3 separate regions of the Homo sapiens genome follow, and regions 1 and 2 are each linked to region 3. The links are contacts of gene promoters, found by promoter capture Hi-C in blood cells and fetal thymus (Javierre and others, 2016). All regions are on one chromosome and are shown on one strand. The core of a region is centred on a gene start or on the middle of the fragment in contact, and the rest is flanking DNA. Distances in the headings are between cores, read along the strand shown. Region 1 overlaps VTI1A (vesicle transport through interaction with t-SNAREs 1A). Region 2 overlaps VTI1A (vesicle transport through interaction with t-SNAREs 1A). Region 3 holds the start of HABP2 (hyaluronan binding protein 2).

The links. Contacts are between HindIII fragments. The CHiCAGO score rates a contact against its expected background, and 5 or more counts as called.
Region 1: a contact is called between a fragment that was not itself captured here and the fragment with the promoter of HABP2 in region 3, in 1 of 17 cell types (M1 macrophages). The highest score is 7.0, in M1 macrophages.
Region 2: a fragment that was not itself captured here is called in contact with the fragment with the promoter of HABP2 in region 3 in 2 of 17 cell types (M2 macrophages and M1 macrophages); the score reaches 5.5 in M2 macrophages.

Annotation. Positions count from the first base shown.
Region 1 is chr10:112,468,822-112,472,256 of GRCh38, reverse strand. All of the region lies in intron 3 of VTI1A (vesicle transport through interaction with t-SNAREs 1A), which reads right to left. Among named protein-coding and RNA genes, the nearest start is that of VTI1A, 23 kb to the right of the region's middle. The HindIII fragment of the contact is 159 bases long and covers 1,687-1,845 here.
Region 2 is chr10:112,529,898-112,532,895 of GRCh38, reverse strand. All of the region lies in intron 4 of VTI1A (vesicle transport through interaction with t-SNAREs 1A), which reads right to left. Among named protein-coding and RNA genes, the nearest start is that of VTI1A, 84 kb to the right of the region's middle. RefSeq lists an enhancer at 1,591-1,640. The HindIII fragment of the contact is 1,484 bases long and covers 899-2,382 here.
Region 3 is chr10:113,551,074-113,554,403 of GRCh38, reverse strand. HABP2 (hyaluronan binding protein 2) reads right to left here and starts at 1,351. Exons shown (of 13, transcript NM_004132.5): 1 at 1,214-1,351. The coding sequence starts at 1,282. The HindIII fragment of the contact is 3,226 bases long and covers 705-3,330 here.

The DNA of each region.
Region 1 (3,435 bases), core at 517-3,016, 1.1 Mb after region 3:
ACAGGAAAAGGCAGCATTCGGGCACCACTGACCTGGGATAGAAGTGAACTTGAGACTGGGGCTAGAAAGCTCTCTTTTTAACATTCATTACGATCTAATCATTCACCCCAAATCCTTCTGTGTATGTCTTAAAGGAAGTTCAGCTTTGTTACAAGAAAAAAGAAATATGCAACTATATAAATCAACCACAAGATGGTGCTAGCATCATAGCACAATATCAGAGACGTGAAAAAGCATTCAACACACCATGTCCTCATAACCTTTAGAACCTTATACCAGCACACCACTTACTTGTTTCTTTCTTTTTCTATTTACTGAGACTTGGTCAAACATTTTATACAATTTTGGAGGGTTTTTTGTTTGTATAAATTTAGGGTTTTAAAATTTGCTTTAATTTTCTTAAGAAGCAAACTAATCTTAAACTTGAAAAATTCCTTAACTACATTTTTTTTTTTCCTCTTGGCTGGTTCATTTTCCTGGAACATTCTGACATGAGAAGGCCCTAGCTAACCTCATATCAATGTTGAAGGAAGAAATTACAAGAACAGCTTACAGGAATTCTAATTTTTTTTTTAAAAGTTGTTTTCAAATACCTAAACAGACTATTAAATACATTTTTATGGAAACTCAAAGGCGGGCAGGTTGCAAAGGATTGTGAAGAGAACATTAAAACGGGTGCTTAGTTACTCGATTCTGATTCTGGCTCCAGAAAGCAGTGTGACTTTAAGTCATTTGGTCTCCTCAGTCCTCCATTTCTTCATCTAAAACATAAGGTGATTAGATTTGACCTCTTCTGAACCTAATATTCCTAACTTCCTTTGAGGCTACACAAGAAGCCAAAAATGAACAATTATAGGCTGTAAGAAGCAAAAAAAAAAAAAAAAAAAAATCAATAAGAATGAAATTAGGTAAGTGAACAGAATAATCAGGAATGGTAACAGTATAAATGGGCACGTAAGTATGACCCCTAACTTTCCTTAACACCCTCCCACACACACGATGCTGACTGCAAATTACCGCATGAATTTTAAAATCCTTTAAACAGGTATTTAGTCAGCTACAAATTATATTCTATGATAAGCCACCGTAATGAAGAAAACCAAAATATGCCACCCCAAAATATACTTCTTTGGTGTATTTTTGAGATAGCTATTCAGAAGGGCTACAAACACAAAAATGGCTCTGAAAAGCTGGAGATTTGCATTTGTAGAGGAAATCAATATTAGTTAAGTAAACAGCAAATGCAAAACAGGCTTTCTCTGAGCGCCCCCACCCTGACCCGTATTGGCTTTACCCAGATCTTGGAAAGATGAACTCACAGGAAAGGGAGACTGAAAGTCTGATGCTTTTTTATTTTATTTTATTTTTTGACACTGAGTCTCTCGCTCTGTTGCCCAGGCTGGAGTTTAGTGGTGCGATCTCAGCTCACTGCAACTTCGGCCTCCTGGGTTCAAGGGAGGCCTCGGCCTCCCAAGTAGCTGGGATTACAAGTGTGCGCCACCATGCCCGGCTAATTTTTGCAATTTTAGTAGAGATGGGGTTTCACCATGTTGGCCAGGCTGGTATGTGAACATTGGTATGTGAACTCCTGACTTCAAGTGATCCGCCTGCCTCGGCCTCCCAAAGTGCTGGGATTACAGGCATGAACCACCGCACCCAGCACTTTTAAAGGTAACAGAGGAAGCTTTTCCACAGGCTCCCATCCATTCTTCCAGGGGGCTGCTGCCTGCCAGGCTCCAACAGCAGAGCCAAGACAACCTTTGCTTGCCTTCCTCCGTTCTTGCTCTGAAAACCTGTTCCCACACTCCAAATCTCTATGCTTTTCTGCACTACAGTATAAAAGCTTCAGTTATGTGGCCCTACTTTGAGTCTCTTACTTTGCGTGTGGCCCCTGTACTTACGCACACAATACATTTTGTTTGGTTTTTCCCATTAATCTGTCCAGTGTCAATTCATTTTAGCATACTTCGACTCAACCCTTGAGAGGGAAAGTTTCAACAGTAAACAGCAGACTATTATTTTTCATTCTCTGATATATAAAATTATCTGTTAAGGAATTAAGAAACATTAAATCTACACTGAACTTTCACTTCCTGCCATGGTGGGGTAATTGGTACAAGACAAACCCTCCTGTTCTACACAACTGTGAACACGGACAAAATGGATGAATCAATTATTTTCCAAAGTTGGACAACAAGCAGTGGAGGAGCGTAATTCCTTAAAGAAGAAAAACATGTGAAATGAGCCCCGCATGGCTCTCAGCCTGGAGGCACTTTCCCAATTGCAGCACACGGAGGGGGAGCCCACAGGGAGTGCAGCAAGTCACTGAACTTAGGAGGCAGACACTGGAGTTAGGACTGCTGGGATGCATCATCAAACATAGCAGGGTAATGGTGAGAAGCAGCCACAAAGAGAAGGAGCTCCAGAAATCGAGAAAGTGGTCCCCTAAGTCTTTGGCTGAAAATGAACTTGCATATGTAGAGGATGGGACCCCACGAGGTCTCACAGAGAACAGCTACTGGGGAGTAATGGATTGAATGGATATTTTAGAGGTTGCCCAGGGCAGAGAGATGGAATTCCAAACAAACATAGGCGAGAGAGCACTTATTAAACACTACAGTCATTCAAAAGGAACCCAAGAAAGGCCAAATCATAAAAGTAGGGCTACTCAAAATGTGTTCTAAAAAGTCTAACAATAAACTCTGAAAGGACCAATCTGATTTGCCAGTAAATTATCTAACTGTCTGAATAAAGCCTCTCATGGTCTAAAGCATGCATTGTCAACAGGAGCAATATCATGTCCACAGAGGCAAAAATTAGTTCTTGGGAGTATGATGAATCTTAAGATATTACAAAGATGTGTGGCCCTCCAAGGAGCCATAGTACATGAACAGATGTACAGATACAGAATATCAGTGGTATTAAAATTTAATAGGGGAAGGAGTGGGACGATTAGGAAAAACATGTCTAAAAAGTATCCTTGGAGAAGTGATAATGAAAAAAAAGGTTGAGCTGTGCTGTTCTAAAAAATAACAATAAAATCTAGGCTTTATAACAACATAGAGGCCATAACAGCAAGTATACTATAATAAAATTATTAGACACGTGAAGAAGCAATGGAACAAGATAGAATACCTAGAAATTGACCTGGATTTTATTCAGCAGGCAATGAGGACTCTGGGATTTTGTGTAATGGCATGACATATACAGATCAGTGTATTCAAAAGCTAATTATGGAATGGTGTACAGGGTTTTGAATGACAGAAGAACAGAATCAGGAAATAGTACTACAATTATCCAGATAGAGAAACCATGAAGGCTTTCAGTAGTAGAGATATTTAGGTGGTAGATCTGCTAATTCTCAGTGACCCAGTGGATGTACAAGGTTGAAAAATTAACGATAACTCTGAAGTAACCAGTACTTGTTGAATCTGA
Region 2 (2,998 bases), core at 391-2,890, 1.0 Mb after region 3:
ATGAACTTCTGTGTATGTAAGAGTCAATTTCTACATTTTTATTTTGCTTAAGAGGCTACCACAATCATGTGGCATGTTTTCATTTTAATTTTTGAATGATTTCTTCAGTTTTCAATTTTCTTCATATTGTAAACTGGCAATGAGCTCTTACTTCATTTATATTGCAGTTTTGTTTTCACTAAAGTCAAATAAAAAATCACTCCTTACTTCTTAGTAAATTATCCTATGATAACATTTTAATTCTCTTATTTAGAACATTTTTCTATTTACCTTAAATATAACAGATAAAACAAGCTGTTTAACTCTTTAGGAACTAAAATATATAACCATATATCTGGCTCATTGTGTGTACGTGTGGGTGTGTGTGTGTTTGACATTATTCTAAACTACAAATATCACTGTATAAGTGAGATGACGACCACAGTTTCTGCAATGACTAGAAACTGAAACCTATGTTGTAACAGACTAAACCACATTCTAGGTCTGAAATTTGCATCCTCAGCAATTCAGGTCTACGACTGATAATTTTTAAACATCCAAATATCTGTAACATCTGTTATAACACTTGACATATGCAGGTCAATAAATTAAACTATTGCTTTGGGAGAAATGTGCCTGAATTGTTCACTATAAGTCTCTGTAAGTATCATGTTTACTATAGCCCGGATATCTCAATGCTTAACGCTGTTTTTGTCCCGAATTCAAGGAAGGCAGTATGCATTCCAGCTTATTCTGTTATTTCATTTGTTATATGAAAAGTATTTTGAGTACCAAAGAATAAGATTTTAAAAACTGTTAAGAATCTTTATAAAAAGGGTACATAAGTTATCATGTAATGTCTCACAGTACATTCAGTGAAAATGAAACCTTTATTATCATCGTTTCAAAATAAGAAGCTTTCTTTATTTTTAATTAACACACTCAGCAACCATCCAGTTACATACAAGTAAATCATCTTTTCATTTCACATGAAAAGTTATAATTCTTCCCCAGAAGAAGCAAAATTTTAAGCTAAAATACCTGGCCTATCATATATCGGAATCTTTCTCTTTGCTATCCCAACATCATGGGAGAAAAAGGCAAACATTAATTCTCAGAAAGAGACGATCTGGGAATTGATCGGCCAGCGATCTTTTCTTTCTGGGGGCACTATTCTTTGGTTGACTATGATACTTAAAGGGCCAAAGTTTAAAACTACTCTTCAGCAATAGAGACCATTTGGGGCATGCCACCCTGCCATAATCAATGAGTGTTTAAAAATGCTACCCATTTGTTTTTTCAATAGGTTCCAAACAAAAAACGTTCTATCTTGTTTGTGCTGCATGGCTGCATTCAAGCTCTACATCGGATTTGTAGCCAAGCTAGGTAATGGGAGGGTTTTTCATCTTTATCTTTTTTCTTTTTTTTTTTTTTCTTTGCTTAGGCCGGGAGTTATTCATTCAAGTAAACAAAAGATGGCCTATTTCTGAAAATTAACAATGCGTAGACTGGACTGTAAGTCGTGATTTCGTATTTTCTCGAGTTACTAGCTCCATCATAGGCAACATGAGAGTGTGCAATGCCACCATGTTGAGTTATGATAATCAACATCTTTTCTGAAACAAAGATTTTTTTTCCCCCAATGCAGAATTTGATACAAGAGGTAATCTGTTCCTTTGTGGGCTGAAAAAATCTGGTTTACGCTGGTTTGAACCAGTGGAATCTCTTGTGGTTAAGCCTTCTGCTGTGACTAAAATCAAAACTGCACTGCAGAGCATGTGAGGGTTCATGCGCGCGCGCGCACGTGCGCACGTGTGTGTGTGTGTGTGTGTGTGTGTGTGTGTGTGTGTGTGAGGTGTGTCACGTGACCCCAGAACTACCGAATTTTTTTTAAAGCTGATAACGCGACTGCTGTCTCTGTTCGCATACAGATAACGAATAAATGCTGAACTCTATTAAACGCCCTTTACACATTATCGTGGGTCGAACACACAATTTTCTGAACTTATGATGACAGTCTATTTATTTTGCTATAAACCCTCAGCACGTAACGAACAGATTTGTGCCTGGTAATGATCTGCTCTGCCAGGGCTATATGAAATGATACCGACCTTCTTTAGATCTTGGGGAATTAAATTGACCGACTTCACCCCCTGGTCTGTAGCTGAAGTTTGACACACTTTATGCACAGCAAGCCCAAATCAGAACTTAAGAGAACCTTGTATTAAGAAATTAAGCAATCATTATCTGCTAAATATTGCTTTGCCACAAAACTTTCCCCACATTTGGAAATAGTCTACTCTTTATATTTTGAATCTTCTATTTAGGATTTATTAAAAGTCACTGATCAATATAATTCTGCATATAGAAACTGAGAGAGTATTAGGGTTCAAAATCAAAGCTTGGAACAGTTTATTTGCCCCATTATCACACTTCACTATGAAAGGCTTTATGATTTTATTCTATAAGTTGTGTTTTTCCTTTTATGAGAATGGTTCTCATGAAATGCAATCAAGTTATGAACTATTAATGTTTCCACTCTAAATACAACATCACTACATTCAAGAACTCAACTCTTTCAAAGAAATAAAATGTTGCCACATGGAATGGTAAATACGGTATTTTCAAAGAATAGAATGATAATGCTTAAGACAGTAATCCTTGGAAAGCTGATAGCCCAAAAGTACTCAAATGTACAAAGTAGGTAATTTTCTTGCCCCTTCTTTGTAAATCAGCATTAGCTATATTTGATTGAATGAAATGAATATGAATCAGAAATGAATGTATACAAAGCATTTAATTTGGAATTAAATGCAAAGGGTATTGTATGAGGGACATTAAAAATGCTTTTGAAAAATTCTTAATTTCTGAATTTTTAACATTTCTAATCATGGCAGAAATGTTTATGTACCTAAGAGTAAATTAACATACTTTATAGTTAATTGGCAGACTATAATTATATGTATTACAGTCAGGTTTCAGATGCCTAAAAAAACTGCATCATAAATTATCAGAATGA
Region 3 (3,330 bases), core at 102-2,601:
ATGCTAATCAGAAAACTGTAACTTAATCTGCTTCATTCAGGAAACGCTCTATGGAGTGAAATGGGGAACAAAATGCAAAGGTACTTAATAAGACAGAGAGGTTATGACTGTTATTTTAGTTCTTATCCTCTGCCCACTTTCTACCACCCCTCCCGAACAAGGCGGAGCATTCTCTGATTTTTATGGAGAAGTTGTGTTCATTCTTGACATTTTAAGGGAGTAGAGCTCACATTTATTTGCAAGCCACATACATGACCTCGTTTACTTGTGGCCCTCCCCAAATCTATGAGAGGTTAGCACTTGATTTGCAGAAGACAACACTGAGGCTCAGAGAGATTATGTTCCTTGCCCAACATTCCACAGCTAGAATGTGGCAAAGCTGAGATTCGAACCCTGGCTCCAAAGCCCACATTCATGCCTCAGACCACAACCAGCACGGAACTCCAAGGAGACTCTATTTCTGTGCAAGGTCCTCTTTCCATGCCCACAGAGATCCATCTGACACTCTTGGACCATGGCACACAGAAGGAACTAACATCTTGACAAGTCATCTGCTCCGGAAGGTCCTGAGTCCCCCGTTCAAGACTCTCTGATGGGACTTCCCTTCCCTGCGCACTGCAACCTCCCTTGGGCCCCTGCTCACCTTCTCTGCCTCATCTGCTGCTGTCACAGGGAAAAGGAGACAAAGTACTAAACACAAAGCTTCTCCCCAAATCCAAACTATTTATGCAGACCCACTGCCAGGATCTTTTGCAGTCAGCAGGCTTCCCCTCTAAGGCCATAGCACATTGCTTCTTACCCTAGTGTCAGCCACAAATCGCTGGAAAACTGTGTGTGTCAGCACCAATAGATAGGTATATTTTCCTGGGGAGAGAGTTTATAGCTTTCCATGGCTTCTCAAAGGGGTCTATGAGATCCATGACAGATTACAATCCATGCCCTGGGGCACATTTTCTTGCCCCAGTCTCCTTTGCTGGAATGCATTCATGGAGGCTCCGCTCCAAGATGGCTCAAGTCAGACACCTGTTCCCATGGGAGTGGCTGCTCAAAAGAAACCAAGCCACAGGCCTGCATTGGTTCTTGTAGTTAGAACATCTCCAACTTGGCAACTCCAGCCTTTCACTCTAAAGTTTCTCATCACTCCCAGCCTAGCTTGGTCCTCCTAGTAAACTTCGGAGTCTCTCAACTACAAATATTAGAAAAGAACACTTACCCCACAGGCTGTCTTTCCCACCAGAGCCATTAACAGCAGAACATGGAGATCAGACATCCTGGCAAACATCTTTGCAGTTTAAGGACTTGTGTTTTCCTCTCAATAAAATTTCTTTTGTTGTCTATGCCTTTAGGGGGGAAAAATGTCAGTCTCCAAGGATTCAGGAACAAATGAAGAGGATGCAAATTATTAACTAGGCATCAAATACTGTTTAATGTTTAATGTTTTGCAAACTAACTATCTTGATTAAACAAATGGCAACTTTGGGGCTGGGCTGAGTCATGAAGTGGTTTCTCTTCTGGGGAGAAACTCTCCAAAGAAAGTAGCTGACATAGCCCCCTGGCTCCACGGTGCACATGACAGCTGCTGGGTGTTCCGAGCAGGAAGCCTGACAGCGTGACTAGCATCCCAGCCTCAGGATAAAAGATCAGGTGAAGCCTGTGCCACAGGCCTCTGCCAGTGCTGATTTGTACAGAATGTTAATAGACTTCTGGTTCATCAAATCTCAAACAGAATTAAGGCATGGATGGGCTCCTAATAACATCACACTTTATATTCATGAGACATAAATTAAAGGATGCAAAACTGCTATTGACAAACATTGATTCTGGGCCCTTTGAAGTGTTGCCCACAGTTGCTTGTTGGCTTCAAAAGTTTTGTTTTAAACCTCATTAGGTAAGACTTTTACTTTTTAATTATTTTTTCCCCTTTTGCTGGAGTCTTTCTTTGATCAAGCGGAGGAAAAAAAACATGGTGTTCATATTTCAGGACAATTGTTTCCTATGTTCCTTATTTAGCTATGCTGGTTGCAGGTAGAGTTCTGTCAAGCAGCAATTACCTATTAAGTGTGGGTTCTTGTGGACACAATTGATCTCTTTAATAGGCATGATCTTAATCTCCTGTAAACAACTGACTGCCCACAGAAATCTATGCCTGGGTTCCAGGAATCCTCCTGACTTGAGTCATAAATCCAGGTTTTGAAATGCTGCTGCCAGCGGAGGCATGTGCTCACCTGTGCCCCCCTGCCCAGCCCTGCCCCTACCTGCCATCCCTGTTTGGCACGTGGACTGCATCAGTGGCTGCATCTACTTCTGAAAGCCAAGTTGCTAGCCGGGGAGGGCCCCACAGATCCCAGCCCAAAAGAATGCCCCAGTCACCAGATGAGCCTTGAAGGACTAGCCAAGTCCTGGTCCTGCCATTTTACCTCCTAAATGACTTCCACATTATTTTCTTTTATCCACATATTTTTGTCTCCATCCTATTTTAGGCAGCCATCAACTCCCCCCACCCCGCCTCCTATACCATCAACATCCACCTGATCACCATAATACAAGCCCATGTTAGTAGTCCCTTTTTCTTTTTATTATTATTATTATTATTATTTTGAGACAGAGTCTCACTCTGTCATCCAGGCTGAAGTGCAGTGGCGTGATCTTGGCTCACTGCAACCTCTGCCTCCTGGATTCAAGTGATTCTCCTGCCTCAGCCTCCTGAATAGCTGGGAATACAGGTGTATGCCACCATGGCTGGCTAATTTTTGTATTTTTAGTAGAGACGGCATTTCGCCATCTTGGCCAGGCTGGTCTCAAACTCCTGACCTCAGGTGATCCACCCGCCTCAGGCTCCCAAAGTGCTAGGATTATAGGCATAAGCCACTGCGCCTGGCTGTAGTCCCTTTTCCTAGAAAGTTCTTCTCTAGCCCTACTCTGTCCTTCCCCTAATCCTTATGACAACCATAAATTTGTTAACTGGAACCCTGCTCACTCCTGAGCAAGTTAATTTAGTTAACTCTCCTAGTTAATGCATCTTTCATCTCTTAGCCCAAACATTACTTCCTCAGAAGCCCTGCATGCATTTCTTCTTTACAGCATTTATGAGGTTGTAATGTCACAGCCGTATTGCTATTTCATTAATATTTGTTTCCCATTGTCCCCATTAGACTGAAAACTCAGGAGAGCAGGCACTCTGTTTCAATCACCATTGAATCCTTGGCATAGATGCCCAGCACTGGATAGACGCTCAATAAGTTTATGTTGGATGAAATGAACAAATGAATGACCACTTTATCCATGTGACAGTTGGACATGTTATCACCAGGATGCCTTAGATAGCATAGC